Regions from separate parts of the Homo sapiens genome. Here all the other regions are linked to region 1. Evidence: promoter capture Hi-C in 16 types of primary human blood cells and fetal thymus (Javierre and others, 2016). All regions are on one chromosome and are shown on one strand. Each heading gives the region's core, a stretch centred on a gene start or on the middle of the fragment in contact. The rest is flanking DNA. Distances are from core to core; before and after follow the strand shown.

Region 1 (5,070 bases), core at 143-2,642:
GCCAAAATTTGCTCAAAGACTGATCTCTTCCTTGCAGGGAACAGCTTTGGGGCTGGGGGAACTAGAACCCACATGTTGGTCTAAACCCTGAGAAGGTGGCAGTGAGGAAGTATCCCCTCAGGTGACTGGATCTGTGTTCCTCCTTAACATCATCTGATGGAATGGCAATGAAAAGCGTGGATTGTGGAAAATACAGAAAAACATAAAGGAAAAAACTCCAATCCCCTGAGCCCACCACTGTTCAGGACCCCTGCTTTTGTCACCTACTATTTCCCTTTAGTTTTTAGCAGCGGCTGGATGTGATATGTCTAGTTTAACCAGTCCCCTTGATCTTTCTATATAATAAATAACACAGGAGTGAACATCCTGAATCAGATCTTAGCAGAGATGCTCACATGCGGGGTAACTGTCCATGGTGTGTGGAGGGGTCCTCGGAACCCCCTCTTAGGATCATCTCCACATACTCTCCCAGTTCTGAGATTCGTTACCAATAGCAGGTTTCCGTCACACTGCGATATCAGAGCAGTGCAGGAACTCTCCGCTCCAAGGGGTTTTTTCCTCCTAGGGGAACACTCTGCTAAGTAATGGGCAGAGAACAAAGGGGCTCCTAATTCAAGGCAGGCCTAAGGGAGGGTCAGAAAGAACTTTAGCTGGAGGTATTTACAGATGTGACCTCGAATCCTTGGGGATTCTTGGAAAATGGGCAAGGTGCCAAAAGAGGAGAACTGGCCAGGCCTTCAAAACTAAAACACCAGAGAATTACAGACAGCGAACTTGCCCCTAAGCCCTCGTTGTGGGTTTGTGTTTGAGCATTTAGGAGAGGACTCCAGTGCTCCTCAGCGACAGACACAGCTGCCTCTGCGGTGTCTGAAGGCCCTGGTCGTGGTGACGCTAGATGGCCGCCCTGGGCGCCTCCTGTGGGCGTAGAGGCATCACCACTCTGCACTGGCAGACTCAGCATGGAGTTGGAGCAGAGTCTGACACGAGCACTTGCCATCCCAGGCGTTTCAGTTCTGACTGAGAAGGTAGATGCACAGGGGAGGAGAGGGCCCTTTCGAGCTCCACTCTGCCTCCACCACTCATTCCCTAACCCCGCAGCCTCAGCGCCCTCATCTGTAAAATGGGGAGTTTTGCCTACAGGGTTCAGCACAATGCCAGCCTGACATAGGAACCCCAGTGGATTGTCAGTTTTGCCATTATCCCCTGCATCCTGGAGGTGACACCGCCTGGTTAATAGGCAACACTCCCGACGGCCCAGCACAGCCCCAGGGCAGCAGGAGGCTGGCCTGTGGCCAAGAATGCATGGTGGAGGGGGCCTGGAGGGGGACTGCAGCTCCTCCTCTTCCTGCTTCCTCCCTGCTCCACCCCGTGCCTAGGGCAGCACAAAAGCCAATCGCTAGCAAACTCCCTGCCTAGCAAGGCCCAGCCTGGGGCAGAAATGGCTGCAAGTGGCCGAGGTCTCTGCAAGGCTGTGGCCGCCTCTCCCTTCCCGGCGTGGAGACGAGATAACACGGAAGCCAGGGGAGGTCTGAAGCCTGAGTATGATGCGGTGGTGATAGGAGCAGGTAAAGTGGTAAAGCAGGCCGGGCCAGAGCTGAGGGGCGGGAAGACAGCCCTGCTCAGAGCTTGGTGGGGAGGGGGAGGGGGAGCCAAGCCCCACTGCTCTCTCCTCTGGCATAACCCAGCCAGAAGTTTATACGCTAGCAGGGGCTGCAATGGAAAGCCCTTCCATCTGGCAGGCAGGCACCTGGGATTCCGGTGCTGGCTCTGCTGTGTGGCCTGGGGCAAATGCTTGCCTTCTCTGGGCTTGGATCTTCCCATGGAGAATGACAGGAAGACTAGGTGAGCTCAGGGGTTTCCCTATATCTCTTGCAAAGTGACCTAGTTTCCACCACATTCTCAGCCTATGGTTTGTAAGGGTTGGAAAGAGCCCTGGGCCAACAGACAAGTGAAATCCAGCACCCCGCCCCCTCAGTGCCCTGAGTTCTGGTCACCACTACCTTACCACTGAGGCCACCCCTCGTCACAAGAAACTGCAGTCATTTCATAAAGGCCAGTTAGGATAAAACAGAACTGAGTCCCAGAGTTCCTACTGCGTGTCTGCAGAGGGAGATGGACCCCATTGCCTTGCAGCTCTGGGACATTTGGGGATCTGCAGTGATCTGCCACACTTTGCCAACCCCTGGGCTCAGAGTATCACAGTCTACTGGGTGCTAGGGGAAGAGGCAGGCCCAGGACCAGGTGGTCTTTCCTTAGTGCCTTCCTTTCACACTTGCAGAGGGCCCCAAATGCATGATTGCCAACTGGGTCTATACAGAGATAATGACGGGACCGAAAGCAGACGGCACTCAACATGCAGCTTTGAGGGCATGCCTTCATTTTCATATGTACTAGAGCAGTTGCGAGCTGGTAGATACTCAACACTCACCTCTCCAGGGAAAAATGTGTGATGTATGTGTGTGTGTACATGTATATATATGTATATATACACACATATATGTGTATATATATGTATATGTGTTACGTACATATATATACACATATACACATGCTTATTTTAAATATTGAAATAAAAGATACACTGCACACAATTTTACAAATAAAGATACAATACTCTCAATTTAAATGCAGTCTACCCGAGTGATTCTTACCAAAGGCTTTCTTTGATTTTTGCCAAACTCAGTAGCCAACCTATAGTTGCAAATGACAAATGAGGGTAGCTCCAAAGAGAACGGTGCTCCATATTTTCTGTAAAGAGTAGGATGATCGTGAAACAAATGAAACAACAAAGATTTATGTCCCAACCTTACTCCTTTATTTTTTAAAATTTATTTTTATTTTATTTATTTATTCATTTATTGAGATGGAGTCTTGCTCTGTTGCCCAGGCTGGAGTGCAGCGGCGCAATCTCGGCTCACTGCAACCTCCGCCTCCTGGGTTCAAGCGATTCTCTTGCCTCAGCCTCCCGAGTAGCTGGGACTACAGGCGCCCACCACCACGCCCGGCTAATTTTTGTATTTTTAGTAGAGACGGGGTTTCACCATGTTGGCGAGGCTGATCTCAAACTCCTGGCCTTGTGATCCACCTGCCTCAGCCTCCCAAAGGGCTGGGATTACAGGTGTGAGCCACTGCGCCCGGCCTCCTTCTTTAAATGACAGGAATGATGTTACTCAAATAAGATAATATTGTTCTAATACTAGAATATTTCCTTCAATTTTTGTGCTATTTATTCATGCTATAACAGCTAACACTGTTAGGTTTAATCTGCATTATTAGCATTTTCCCATCACTTTCTTAAGCCTGACCACAAAAAATAAATTCAGCCCTTCTGTGTAATATTTGCTGATGACAGTGGTGTAAATACTCCCACCATAGCCTTTTCTGTTACCAAGATGAGGTTGCTCAATGTGATTTAGGAGAGATACCCAGTAGCACATCATTGTATAGTGTGTCCACCATGCAGATATGTACATAGAGGCCAGTGACTGCCAGGGCATGGGCAACAGTCAAATGTAGTAAAACAAATAGGAGGTAGTGTGTTTTGAGTATTTATTACCTTTGTTTTTAATTTATTTAATTGTAAGCTTATATAATTTAGTTTATATCAATGGCTGTTTGACAGCCGGCTCACAAACTCCCCGGGCTGGTGGGAGCCATCTCCAGCACCTCACTTAGCCTCAGAGAAGCCCCCTGCCTCCTTCCGTGCTCAGCCACAGCTCACCCTGCTGTCTCCTAATGGGGAAGGTTGACTTTAGGTCACCAGCTGCCTTGGTGACTTGCCTACAAGTGCGAGTGAGTCTCAGTGTGTGAGCTTTTCCTTGACATGATTTCTTTAGTTGCTAAACATACCATAAAGCCTGGTTTAAAGGCATCTTGGGCCTCAGTGAGGAACAGAACGGCATCTTCTGAGACAAGGGTTACCTCTGAGTCCCTGAAGGCACACTGGCACCTGGCCGCCACCTTGAAGATGAATCTCATTTAGTCATTTGACTAAATGTGCCTGAGAGTGACTGAGGGGGCTTGTTAAAATGGAGATTCCTGGCCCCATACCTGGTGACGAGCATTCTGAGGGCGGGAGGTGTCTCCCAGAGGTCAGCACATCCACCCAACCAACACTGCCTGATGCAGGCAGCTGCAGAGCCCACGCCCAGAGCAGCTCCTCAAGGGCCCAGGCGCCTGCTATGGGGCCCCTGAGGCAGGTCTGGGGATTAGCAGAGCCCGCAGCTGAAGTCCTCTTCAAGGGAACAGAGGTGTCACCAGAAGCCAAGGAGGGCTCAGCCAGGACTTGAGGGTGGTCACTGGGAGGGGGTCTTGTGCTTTGGATCCTTGACCTTACTCATTTGAGGTCTGCCATGATTGAACTGGACCCAGTTGCCTGGAAGACTATGAGTTTTCCAAGATCGATCATCAGCACCAATTAAAAGACAAATAGCTCCCATTTATCTCATCCTTGCCACACTGCAGGGTCCCTGGCACCCTCTGTTCCCCATGTGAAGAAACTCAAGGCTCAGGGCAGCTGATGACTCTCTGAGGTCATGCCCTGGCAAATAGCAGAGGCTGGGCTGAGCCCAGGACTGTCTGCCTTTAGTTTGCTGCATGTCTTTGAGAGACAGATTCCATCTGTTCATGAGTCCCACTGGCGGATTGTTTAAACTTTCTTATGAACATTTTCAAAAGCCCATACAAATAAAGAGTATGTCAACCAGCACTTTTTAAGATGAACTGTAACCAACTAGCTTCTCACATGCTTCTCATATGGTAAGAGTTAATTTTAGCTCATGAAACTTTTGGTTCTGTGAAACACCTGCTGAACAGACTCCTGGGAAGGGGGTCTGTGGGAGTCGACATTTATACAACCTTCCAGGTGATTCTGAGCTTATCAGAGCTGGAGAGGCACTTGCTACCCAGGGGCTTGGTGTGGAACGTGAGATGCCAAAGCCAAATTCAGGCCTCTCAGCTCAAGGCACCCTGAAGCACAGCTAGTCACTCCAGCACATGTTGAAGCTGTGCATGTTTACTTCATGTTGAACTGTTCATGTTTTATTTTTGGAACACTGGGGATTGGCAAAA
Region 2 (5,070 bases), core at 903-3,402, 1.2 Mb before region 1:
GACTTGAGTGCCAAAATCTAAAGCTGACTCACCTTTCGTATTGCCTATCTCGTGGTAATGAAGCACTCCAATGTCGAAAGTCTATGATTAACATAAGTAAAAGGAGACAGGATATGAAGAAGAGTCCCAGGAATGCCACCCGCTGACGGAGAAATGGACTCACTGTGGGCACAGTGAAGTACCAGGAGGCTGGGCAGAGGTAGGAAAAACTGATCCTGAAATTAGACAAACATTAGTAAGTCTGAAACATTTCTACAACTGAGTGCTTAAATATCGTTTTAAAATTGGATAAAACCCTCCTAATAAAGGCAAAAATCCATGCCAACAGAAGTCTAAATGTTCTTGTCATCTCTAATTTTAGAAGAAGCTCATGGTGCTTCTACTATATATATCAGAAAAGCCTTATCTGCCCTTTTTCCAAACTGCACTTTGAGTGCAATTCAAAGACTTAATCTCATGTTAGTGAAAAGATCACCAGTCTCCCTGGGCAACCTCATAACATTGGAGAATCAGAGCAACTACAGTATTCCCAACCAAGAATTCTGTCAAGAAACAGGATGGTCAGAAAATTTATTTAACTGATTTTAAAAATGTTTTACCAGATTATACAAGCACATAGTAAAAGACAAATCAGTTTAAAAGGATATATTGTATAGTGAAAAGTGATTCTTGCCCTGACCCCACAATCTCTCAGAGGCAAACATTACTACCCAGTTGCTGTGTAATTTTTTTTTTTTTTGAGATGGAGTCTTGCTCTGTTGCCCAGGCTGGAGTGTAGTAGCGCAATCTCAGCTCACTGCAACCTCCACCTCCTGGGTTCAAGCGATTCTTCTCCCTCAGCCTCCCCAGTAGCTGGGATTACAGGTGACTGCCACCACACCCGGCTAATTTTCGTATTTTTAGTAGAGACCGGGTTTCTACTTGGCCAGGCTGGTCCTGAACTCCTGACCTCAGGTGATCTGCCTGCCTTGGCCTCCCAAAGTGCTGGGATTACAGGCGTGAGCTACTGCACCTGGCCGTTGCTGTGTATCTTTCCAGGGATATTCTACGGATACACAAGCATAAATATACACCAATATATTTACAGTAATATATCTCTGTGTGTGTGTGTGTGTGTGTGTGTGTGTGTGTGTGCGTATCCATTCCCTCGGTTTTACACAAATGGTAGTCCACCATACCTGCTGTTCTGCATCTTTCCCCCACTTTATTTTATAACTTTCCCTTATTGGTGCATGTAGATCCACATTAATATTTTTTAAAAGCTTCAGGTTATTATAATGTATGGATAAGTGTATTCATCTGTGAAGTTCACTTTGTATATTGATTCAAAAGGACCTCGGTCTGTCTGCTTTTAAAGTTCACTGCAAACAAAAAACAAAAAAACTTCTTTGTTTAACCTCCTCAAGTGGCACCTAGCCTTGCTCAGATGCGAATCTGAATCAATGTTACAACCTTGCACTTTACAGAGCTGAGCAAGCCGACTCACTCTACCACTCCTGGTCTATGGGCTAGAAACTATTATTTATCAGCCCTCGAAATAATACAACTTTGATCGTCTCTGCATCCAACTAACCAGAATACAAAGTCCAAGTGCAGCTCCAGGGCAAACCTCACTTGGGACAGCCTCCCAGGGCCCCCCAACCTGCCTGCCATCCTCTGCCGTGCTCCCAGCCGGAGGGAAAGTGTGCAGCCTTACCTAGCCATGGGTTCCCTTCGGTGGTCTCAACGCCTGTCACCTTCTTTTTCTTTTGCCCTGAGAAGGTGGCCTCCTTGTCCCAGGCATCTCCTACGTCTGCAGCCTAGAAAGATTTGATTTCAGGCTTCTGTCCGACTGAGCCCACGAGACAAACCTGCACGGGAATTCCACGGCTCCCACCTCCTCCCCAGGCTCCCGCTCCGTCTGCTCTGGTTCCTCAGGCCCAGGGGACCCTACCCGGGCATCCTGGGAGCGGGGCGTTCTCGTGGGCCAGCTCTGTCCTCTAGGAACCGGTCGTCCCCAGGTGGCGGGGTGTGGGTCCCGCTTCCTCTCCCCGTCCCTCCGGGTCCCACAGCCCTCTCGCGCCCACACTCACGGGATCAAGCGGCCCGCCGGTTCCTTCGGCACCTCTCGGTTCAGTCCCGAGCTGCTCCCCGCGGCCCCTTGCCCAGCCGGAAGGAGGGCCCGGCCGGCGGCGGCGCCACGTCCCCAAGGAAACCGCAGGGAGCCAATGACTGACAGAAGACTCACGGAGGGGCCGGCTCTCCACGAGCCGAACCGGGGGCGAACCAGCTCGGTCAGCAGCACGTCCGTCCGCCAGGGTGGCCAATCCCCTAGAGCGCTCGGCCTCTGATGCCCGCCCCGGGACTTTGAGCCGCGCCCAATCGGAAAGGCGTCGTACCGAGGCTCCGCCTGCAGGGCCCGCGGAGAGCTCACAGGTGAGTGGCGCTGGGCGGCCCTGTGCCCGCTTCCCTCCCTGGGGCGCGAACTCTCGGCTGGTTGCTTTCTCCACGGCCGCTCCTGGGACAGAGTAGCTCCGGTAGGTGGGTTCAGGGTGTTCGCGACCGAAGCGCATCCCTTGCCCATAACCTATTGTTGGTTTTGTGCCCACTGACCCTCCCTACCAGAATGGCAGTTCTCTCACCTTAAACCTTCCCTATCACCTCCCAAACTGATGCCCCGACCTCACTGTCTTGCCCCGTGAGAAAACAGAAATCGAAGACAATGACGTTTACACCAAAGTGCTTATGTCCATTCATTCATTCATTGAATGTCTGCTTATGCCAGTCATCATGAATTTCTGTGTCGCCGCCCTCCTTGACCTTACAGTAACACAAAGGAAACGACGCGCGCGCGTGGGTGTGTGTGTGTTTCTTTCTTGCTTACACCAGCCGTTATCTCATTTCCAGGAGGACGGCATAAAGTCCAAGCTCTTTCCAACGTGGCACATCCATTGCGCCCCACGATCCGCCCTACCGCCGTCCTCTGCCGCTACTTGCCTTCCTTACCACGCTCCAGCAACGCGTCCTGTTTTGCTCATTCTGCCCCTCCACCTGCCTTGAATAACCGTCCCAGCCTCTTAGCCAAATCACCTCCTACTCATCCCTTACCACCCATCTTAAGGGTCGCCTTCCCCTAAAAGCCCTACTTGACCTACTACACCTTTTTTATACATGCCTATTGTTTCACTTAGCACGTTGAATTACTATTATACGTATATGTCTGTCTGTCTGTCCCACTAGACAGAATATCCTTGAAGGCAGGGACTATTTGCTTCCACATATTCCCAATACTGGCCACTGCCTGGCAGATAAAACACAACTAATGTATAATTAATAAGCAAATGAATGAATGGGGGGGATCGGGGAGGAAGACCACCCAAATGCTTTATTTATTCAAAGCTTACTATGACAAGGGAGTCAGTCACCATCACTTGCATTTGGCCGACTCAAAGCCTGTCAGGACATTAGGAAAACTACTTACTTACTTAATTACCTACAGGGTCTCACTCTGTTGTCATCCAGGCTGGAGTGCAGTGGTGCGATCGTGGTTCACTGCAGCCTCGACCTCCTGAGCAAGCGATCCTCCCACCTCAACCTCCTGAGTAGCTGGCTCTACAGGCACGTGCCACCATGCCCAGCTTATTTTTTTTTAATTCTTTGTAGAGATGGAGTCTCACTATGTTGTCCAGGCTGGTCTTGAACTCCTGGGCTCAAGCAGTCTTCCTGTCTCAGCCTCCCAAAGTGCTGGGATTACAGGGATGAGCAGCTGCACCTGGCCAGGAAAGCTTAGTAGTGAACAAAAAGGGAAGGTTTCATGTATACTCTGACTTGAGGGTATTAGCATGGGAAAGCTGGAGGTGGGCTAACAAAAGTAGTGTCTCTTAGGTGATTGGTTTGGGGTAGGTAGCATATTTGGCTGTCTTTAGTGGGTTCTGAGTTGAAGAAAGGAGGCGGCAAAAAACAGGGAAACTGAGTCATTGACCAAGTCCTGATTATTCTCGGCTGGTTGCTGTAGAGGTTGTGGGTCAGAGTTCTAATTGTCATATAAGATCTAGCCATTGTCCAGTTTCTATATTCAGTTCTCATGACTATTGTTTTTTTGGCTCCACTACTCTCCTAACCTTGTTGAACTTCCTAATTTGCCTTTCTTCTTCAATTCTCAGTTCTCAGTTTTTTTTTCTCTGTCCCTCAATCCCCACTCTGCTTCAAGTGTTATATTTTATCTGGACCCCCAGAAACCACATTGAATAGAATAGTTGCATAAAGTTGGGATTAACCACAACATTATACAGATACCAGTTATTTTTATTATTTCAGAACCCAGTTCAGTTCCTAGAACAAAATAGATATGGAAAGAACTAAAATAATGTTTTGGAGTAATTTTTAAAAATTTCTTGAATTTACCTTCTGTGAGTTCTAAGTCTAATCTCTATACATATATATTTCAAACTTTAGTGTTCCACAAAATAGGTGTTTTTGAGTGGAAGTATAATTCCTATTTTTAAAATAGTACTTAATTCCTATGGTTTATGAACTATATTAACTTATAATTCAAAAGTTCATTGAAACATCCTCTAATTTACATTTCATAACTACATCATAAAACAGAAAAGACCTACATTTTAATCCCAACATTTTTTCATTATATTTTCTTTGTAAAACTTTCTTTGTCAGTCTGGTTTGGACAATACTTCCTTCAATAAATCCATATGCCCTCAAGCATTTGTCAAGCATAATTCTTTACAAAAACCAGCAATGCTTATCTGGTTAACAGCTCATAGGGCTGAGTTCCGAGGTTTCCAGTCAGCAGGGCAAATTAAAAAGCACTGAGAGTATTTCTCTATTTCATTTGCTGTAACTCAACATGTTGCAACAAGTTATAGAAACCTATGTTTCAAAACAGGTTTTTAACTGCTCTTTAAAGGCTTGCCTTACAATTACATTTGCAATTTTTCTCCAGATGTGCTTGATGCCCAGCCCTGAGCAAAATCAGCCCAACAGGTCCCATATTAGGTGCTAGTTGTTTGCTTTGCTTCATTTCCCCTTGTGGATTCTCCTTCCCTCCACACTCCATCCCACCCTACCCTCTAA
Region 3 (5,070 bases), core at 850-3,349, 1.0 Mb before region 1:
AACAATGACCTCCCATGTTCTTTTTAAACACAACTATTAAACCAGTAATACACTAAAACATGATTTTAGAAATATGCTCTACCTCAAAGGGAAGTTGTGGGAATGATTTTTAGACATGATTTGATATCAAATATTCTGACTTTCTGGGGCAAAAGCATAATATAATTTCAAAAACAGTAACACTTTATGCATTCTTACATTTAGTAAGTTTTTACCGTGTGGGATGCAATATGGCACCATGGAGAAGTGACCCTGGAGGCAGACTGTGTTCATATCCCCACCATTGTCTAGCTGTGCCATCGTGGGCAAGTTACTTAATTGCTCTTTGCCTCAATTGCCTCATCTGTTAAATGGAATAATTAGACCACCTGCTTCACTTATACAACTTGAATGAGTTAGTGTTTGTGAAGAACTTAGAACAGTACCCAACATATAATAAGCACTATATAAATTCTTTTAAATAAACCTTTGTGATGTGTTAGACACGTATAAGTAGTGAACTAGTATCTATTAAACACTTGTTGCAGAACAAGTAATAATCATTAGGCAATTTTACATCTATTCTAATTAAAACTCGGATGCAAATATCCTCATTCATTCCTTCAGCCAATATTTATTGTCTGTTCGATGTCAGGAGCTGTTCTCGGTCTTTGGATACAGAATTGTGGGATTCATTTTTTTTCTTCAATTCTCAAGTTCAGGAGTACATGTGCAGGATGTGCAGGTTTGTTACATAGGTAAATGTGTGCCGTGGTGGTTTGCTGCATAGATCATCCTGTCACCTAGCTATTCAGCCAAGCATCCATTAGCTGTTCTTTCTGATGCCCTCCTTCCTCCTACTCCCACCCCTGACAGGCCCCAGTGTGTGTTATTCCCCTTCATGTATCCATGTGTTCTTCATCATTCAGCCCCACTTATGAGAACATGCAGTATTTGGCAGTATTTGGTTTTCTGTTCCTGCGTTAGTTTGCTACGGATAATGGGGATTCATATTTTTAAAAATCACTAATTTATTAACTAAGGAGCATCAATAGCTCCCCAGATTTCCAGATCAACTCTAAACTGTAGCACACCACATTGTTCTTTATTTAAAAATAGTTTCTCATAGTATCTGAAGTTTTAAGTTACTACACACATACATACTTTGCTTTGGAGAATTACTTTTTCCTGTCCTACTTCATTGTCATTGTTAGAAACTATCTAAATTTTCTATTCCTGTGAAGTGTCTCTCAAGCCTGTTTTTAAAAAATTTTTATTTATTTTTGTTGACTCAGCAGGTGACTTGTTACACACGCCTTAGTGGATTCGACTTCCATGGCCACTGTCCTGCTTCAAACCTGTCATTTTTATTTTCAATGAAAACTTGATTTTTTTTTAGGCTACAAAAATAATACATGTGTTTACTCTTTTTCTGTTAAAGCAAAGCTACAATGCATAACTGTATGCCTACATACCTATCTTTGAAAACTTGTATAAATTTCTTTAGGATAGATTCCTAGAGGAGAAATTGCTTGGTCAAATGGTATTATGTGCATTTTGACTGTTATTACCAAAATACAAGAAAAGGCTTTATTCATTGACAGTCTCCCCAATAGTGCATGTCATTGCTCTTTTCCCTCAACACTATTTTTTGAACATTTAAAATGTTTGTCAGTCTAATGGGTAAACATTGATAAATCAGCGTGGTTTCAATTTTATAATGAGGATGATTTTGGACATGTTTACTGGTTATTTGTATTTATTCTTTTCTGAATTTCTTTATATCCTAATTTTTCCACCAATACAATGAAGCTCTGACTATATAACAGATGTGACTAATAAGCATGTTGCAAATATTCTTCCATGTTATCACATATTTATTTATGGTGTCTATAGCCATGCAAAGTCAATTATTTTCTTTATAGCTTCTGAGATTGTGCCATGATTAGGAAAGTCTATTCTACCCTAATACTATGTTTCAAATATATTATTTTCCCTATATTGTTTAAAATATTTAAATCTTATATCCATCTATAATTTATTTTGTGCAAAGGAGAAACCAATTTTTTAATATATCAAACAAATCTGACATAATTGACGGTCACAACATCAGATGAAAATCTGTGCTTGAAAAGGTGCATTGTTTTTAAAAGAGTTAAATACAATCTTGCCATCTTGAGAGTTCCAGAACTCTCTACAGCCAATGCAAGGGCCTTTTCTAGGACAGTTTCCCGTCATACTCCAGGCCTCACACATACCGGCCAAATAAAAATGCTATTGTGATACCAATAGTGATTAGAAATAATACTTTATTTTCAGTAATTAACAAAAGTCAGATATCCTGAAAATCAAATAATTGGCAAGTGAGTTTATATTTTAACCTGATAATTTCCTTCTCATAAATGTTTAATTGTATGTTAGACATAAATCACTCAAGAAAGCATTTTATAGCGGCACCTTCTTTTCTGGCATCTATTTTCAGGTTTATAGAAAATGGCTAGGCCAGGCACAGTTGCTCATGCCTGTAATCCCACCACTTTGGGCTGCTGAGGCGGGTGGATCACTTGAGGTCTGGAGTTCTAGGCCAGTCTTGGCCAACATGGTAAAACACCATTTCTACTAAAAATACAAAAACTTGCCAGGCGTGGTGGCAGGCACATGTAATCCCAGCTACTCGGGAGGCTGAGGCAGGAGAATCACTTGAACCTGGGAGGCAGCAGTTGCAGTGAGCCAGGATGGTGCCACTGAACTCCAGCTTGGGCGACACAGCAAGACTCTGTCTCAAAAAAAAAGAATTCTGGATGAAAAAGTCCTAGAGATGTGTTGCACAACAATGTGCATATAGTAAACACTAATATACAGTATACTTAAAAATGATTAAGATGGTAAATACATGTTTTTTTACCACAATTTTAAAAAGAGTTAATTATGTCTTGTGGTTTATGTTTTTAATCAACCAACAAATATTTGAGTACCTAGATACCTTATTGTGGAGGATACCAAGAAGTGCAATTGATGGTTTCAGTTCTCAAGGAACTAGCAACCAAGTTGGGAGAAAATATTGAGTATACATAAAAGTTAATTAACAATCTCAGGCAATAGAATGATACCAAATGAGGAGAAGAGACATAAAGTCTTCTAGGCAGGAATCTTTTTGGGCTACAGTGATAGAAATATTCATTAGGTACTTAAATGGCTTTCAAACCATTTTAATACATATTTTCTAAATTGACCCTTTTAATAAATCTAGGAGGTATTATCTCCATTTAACAGATGAAATAAAAGCTCAGAGACTGTAATTTGCCCAACTTCACATGGCAGAGCTGGGAACTAGACTCAACGTCTTTCAGTGCTTATTCCTAGTGGGATTTATCTAAATTGGCATTGAAGATTTGCTGCCAAAAGAGTTTTCAGGGTTAAACAGAATCCAAATGTGCTAGGATTACCATGGTTTTGTATTTGCTAAAATTAGAATTATTCTGTCAGCTTGCTAAAGAGCATCAAGTAACTTTAGTAAAAAATAACAGATCATTTTTTCTTGCTGTTTACCGGTTAGGGAAACTCAAATCATACTGTGATAGAATGACGACGAGCATACAAGGCTTCAATTTCACTACTTATACACAGCCATTTAGCCAACTGCAGTCCCATGAAAGACATTCTTTACCCATCTTGTCTGACACCACTCCTTAAAGTCATAATACACATACTGTATTTGAGCTAGTTCTGACCTGACCCACGTATGACAGAGAGCAACACTAACACAGCAGAATAAAGGCAGTGAATAAGAATTTAGAAGCACTTATCAGGGCTAAGACTATATGAGTTACACACATTTTTTAAAACTACATCCTGCTATTTCAGTAGATTGACTTCTATCCAGAACGTGCAGGAGCATTAGGTCTGTTCATACAATAACCCTATCTGATTACCCAGGGTCAAGCTACTGTTTATCTTTACTAGACAGAACCCATATCCTGAGTGGGGGACCTCAAACCTTCCGTGTTTTTTGCATTACCTGGTGCACCACTTCCAGGTAATGCAGGCTCTGACATTCTTTATACATAATCACCTAAACCATAATAAAAATACTCCAATTTTTTGTTTTTTTTTAATGGTAAAAGTAAACACAGACACAGGGGTCAGGAGCTTTGCCTTTATTTTCCTTCTCAAGAGTGCTCAACATTTTGCAAAAGAAGGATAGTGCTGCCCTCTACTGCTCAATGTTGAAATATTATTAATAAACGAGGTTCCTACTAGCTTTGTGTACTAGATTACCACAATTTATTACACTGTTTTAAACGAACCCTTTAAGAGTTATTTAAAAGACTGTGTTCTTGGCAAACACATTGAATTTGTTTCCTTCATTATCTCTTCATATACCTTCATCTTGTACCAAAGAGTAGGATTTTAGGACACGACACAACCAAAAGAAGGACATTACAACTTTGGGGAAGAAAGCTTAACATGGCTCTAGAAGTAAGAGACTGTACTGGTGATCCATTTAAGGAGAAACGGGGCAAGGAGAGGAAATTTTCTTCTGACTTCAAGGTCTGTAGCCTTCCCATTCTTCTGTTATTTGGAGTGTCTTCATTTGTTTTTTTGCTAAGGCAATCCATTTCCTTCTTTCTGTTTCTTTGGAGAAGGCTGCTGCCCCAGGATGTGGAGAGAATAGTGTTTCTAAAACATTTTTCTATTCTTCAGAAAAAGATAATATAGCTATACAAAGGGCTATCATTAACATTTACATTTTAATTAATTATTAATAAAGTTGTCTTATTACCTTTAAATTGCCTTGAGATTTTATAGATCTCTACAAAGACTTCTTGGAGGGCTCTAGATATTTTGAAAATTGTGTTCTCTGTTTTCTTTTCCATTTGAAAAATATTTCGGAGTACATGCCTGCAAGGGGCCAGATCAGGCAGACTTCAAAGAGAGTTTGCCTAACCATTAGCACCCTACAGCAACCCAGGGACGAATTTCCTCATATGACAATAGTAAAAACAATAATTTCTATAACTGTGTTAAATGTGTGTATATCAACACTAAGCAAAATTCTTTTTAAAAGTAAATTACATATAAGAATATTAA

Evidence for each region. The method cuts DNA at HindIII sites, captures the fragments that hold promoters and counts their contacts. A CHiCAGO score of 5 or more calls a contact.
Region 2: the fragment with the promoter of ENTPD7 here is called in contact with the fragment with the promoter of PYROXD2 in region 1 in 4 of 17 cell types (non-activated CD4 T cells, M0 macrophages, total CD8 T cells and 1 more); the score reaches 9.5 in non-activated CD4 T cells.
Region 3: a fragment that was not itself captured here is called in contact with the fragment with the promoter of PYROXD2 in region 1 in 2 of 17 cell types (activated CD4 T cells and non-activated CD4 T cells); the score reaches 5.2 in activated CD4 T cells.

The regions. Positions count from the first base shown.
Region 1 is chr10:98,411,504-98,416,573 of GRCh38, reverse strand. PYROXD2 (pyridine nucleotide-disulphide oxidoreductase domain 2) reads left to right here and starts at 1,392. Exons shown (of 16, transcript NM_032709.3): 1 at 1,392-1,565. The coding sequence starts at 1,439. It overlaps HPS1 (HPS1 biogenesis of lysosomal organelles complex 3 subunit 1), which reads left to right. Exons shown (of 20, transcript NM_000195.5): 20 at 1-376. The HindIII fragment of the contact is 3,850 bases long and covers 1-3,586 here.
Region 2 is chr10:99,656,591-99,661,660 of GRCh38, reverse strand. It overlaps ENTPD7 (ectonucleoside triphosphate diphosphohydrolase 7), which reads right to left and starts at 2,152. Exons shown (of 13, transcript NM_020354.5): 1 at 2,073-2,152; 2 at 1,697-1,799; 3 at 33-215. The coding sequence starts at 1,704. It also overlaps a transcript of SLC25A28 not described here. RefSeq lists silencers at 1,924-2,143, 2,264-2,473. The HindIII fragment of the contact is 2,116 bases long and covers 1,265-3,380 here.
Region 3 is chr10:99,435,316-99,440,385 of GRCh38, reverse strand. All of the region lies in intron 3 of GOT1-DT (GOT1 divergent transcript), which reads right to left. Among named protein-coding and RNA genes, the nearest start is that of GOT1-DT, 6.9 kb to the right of the region's middle. The HindIII fragment of the contact is 4,686 bases long and covers 1-4,442 here.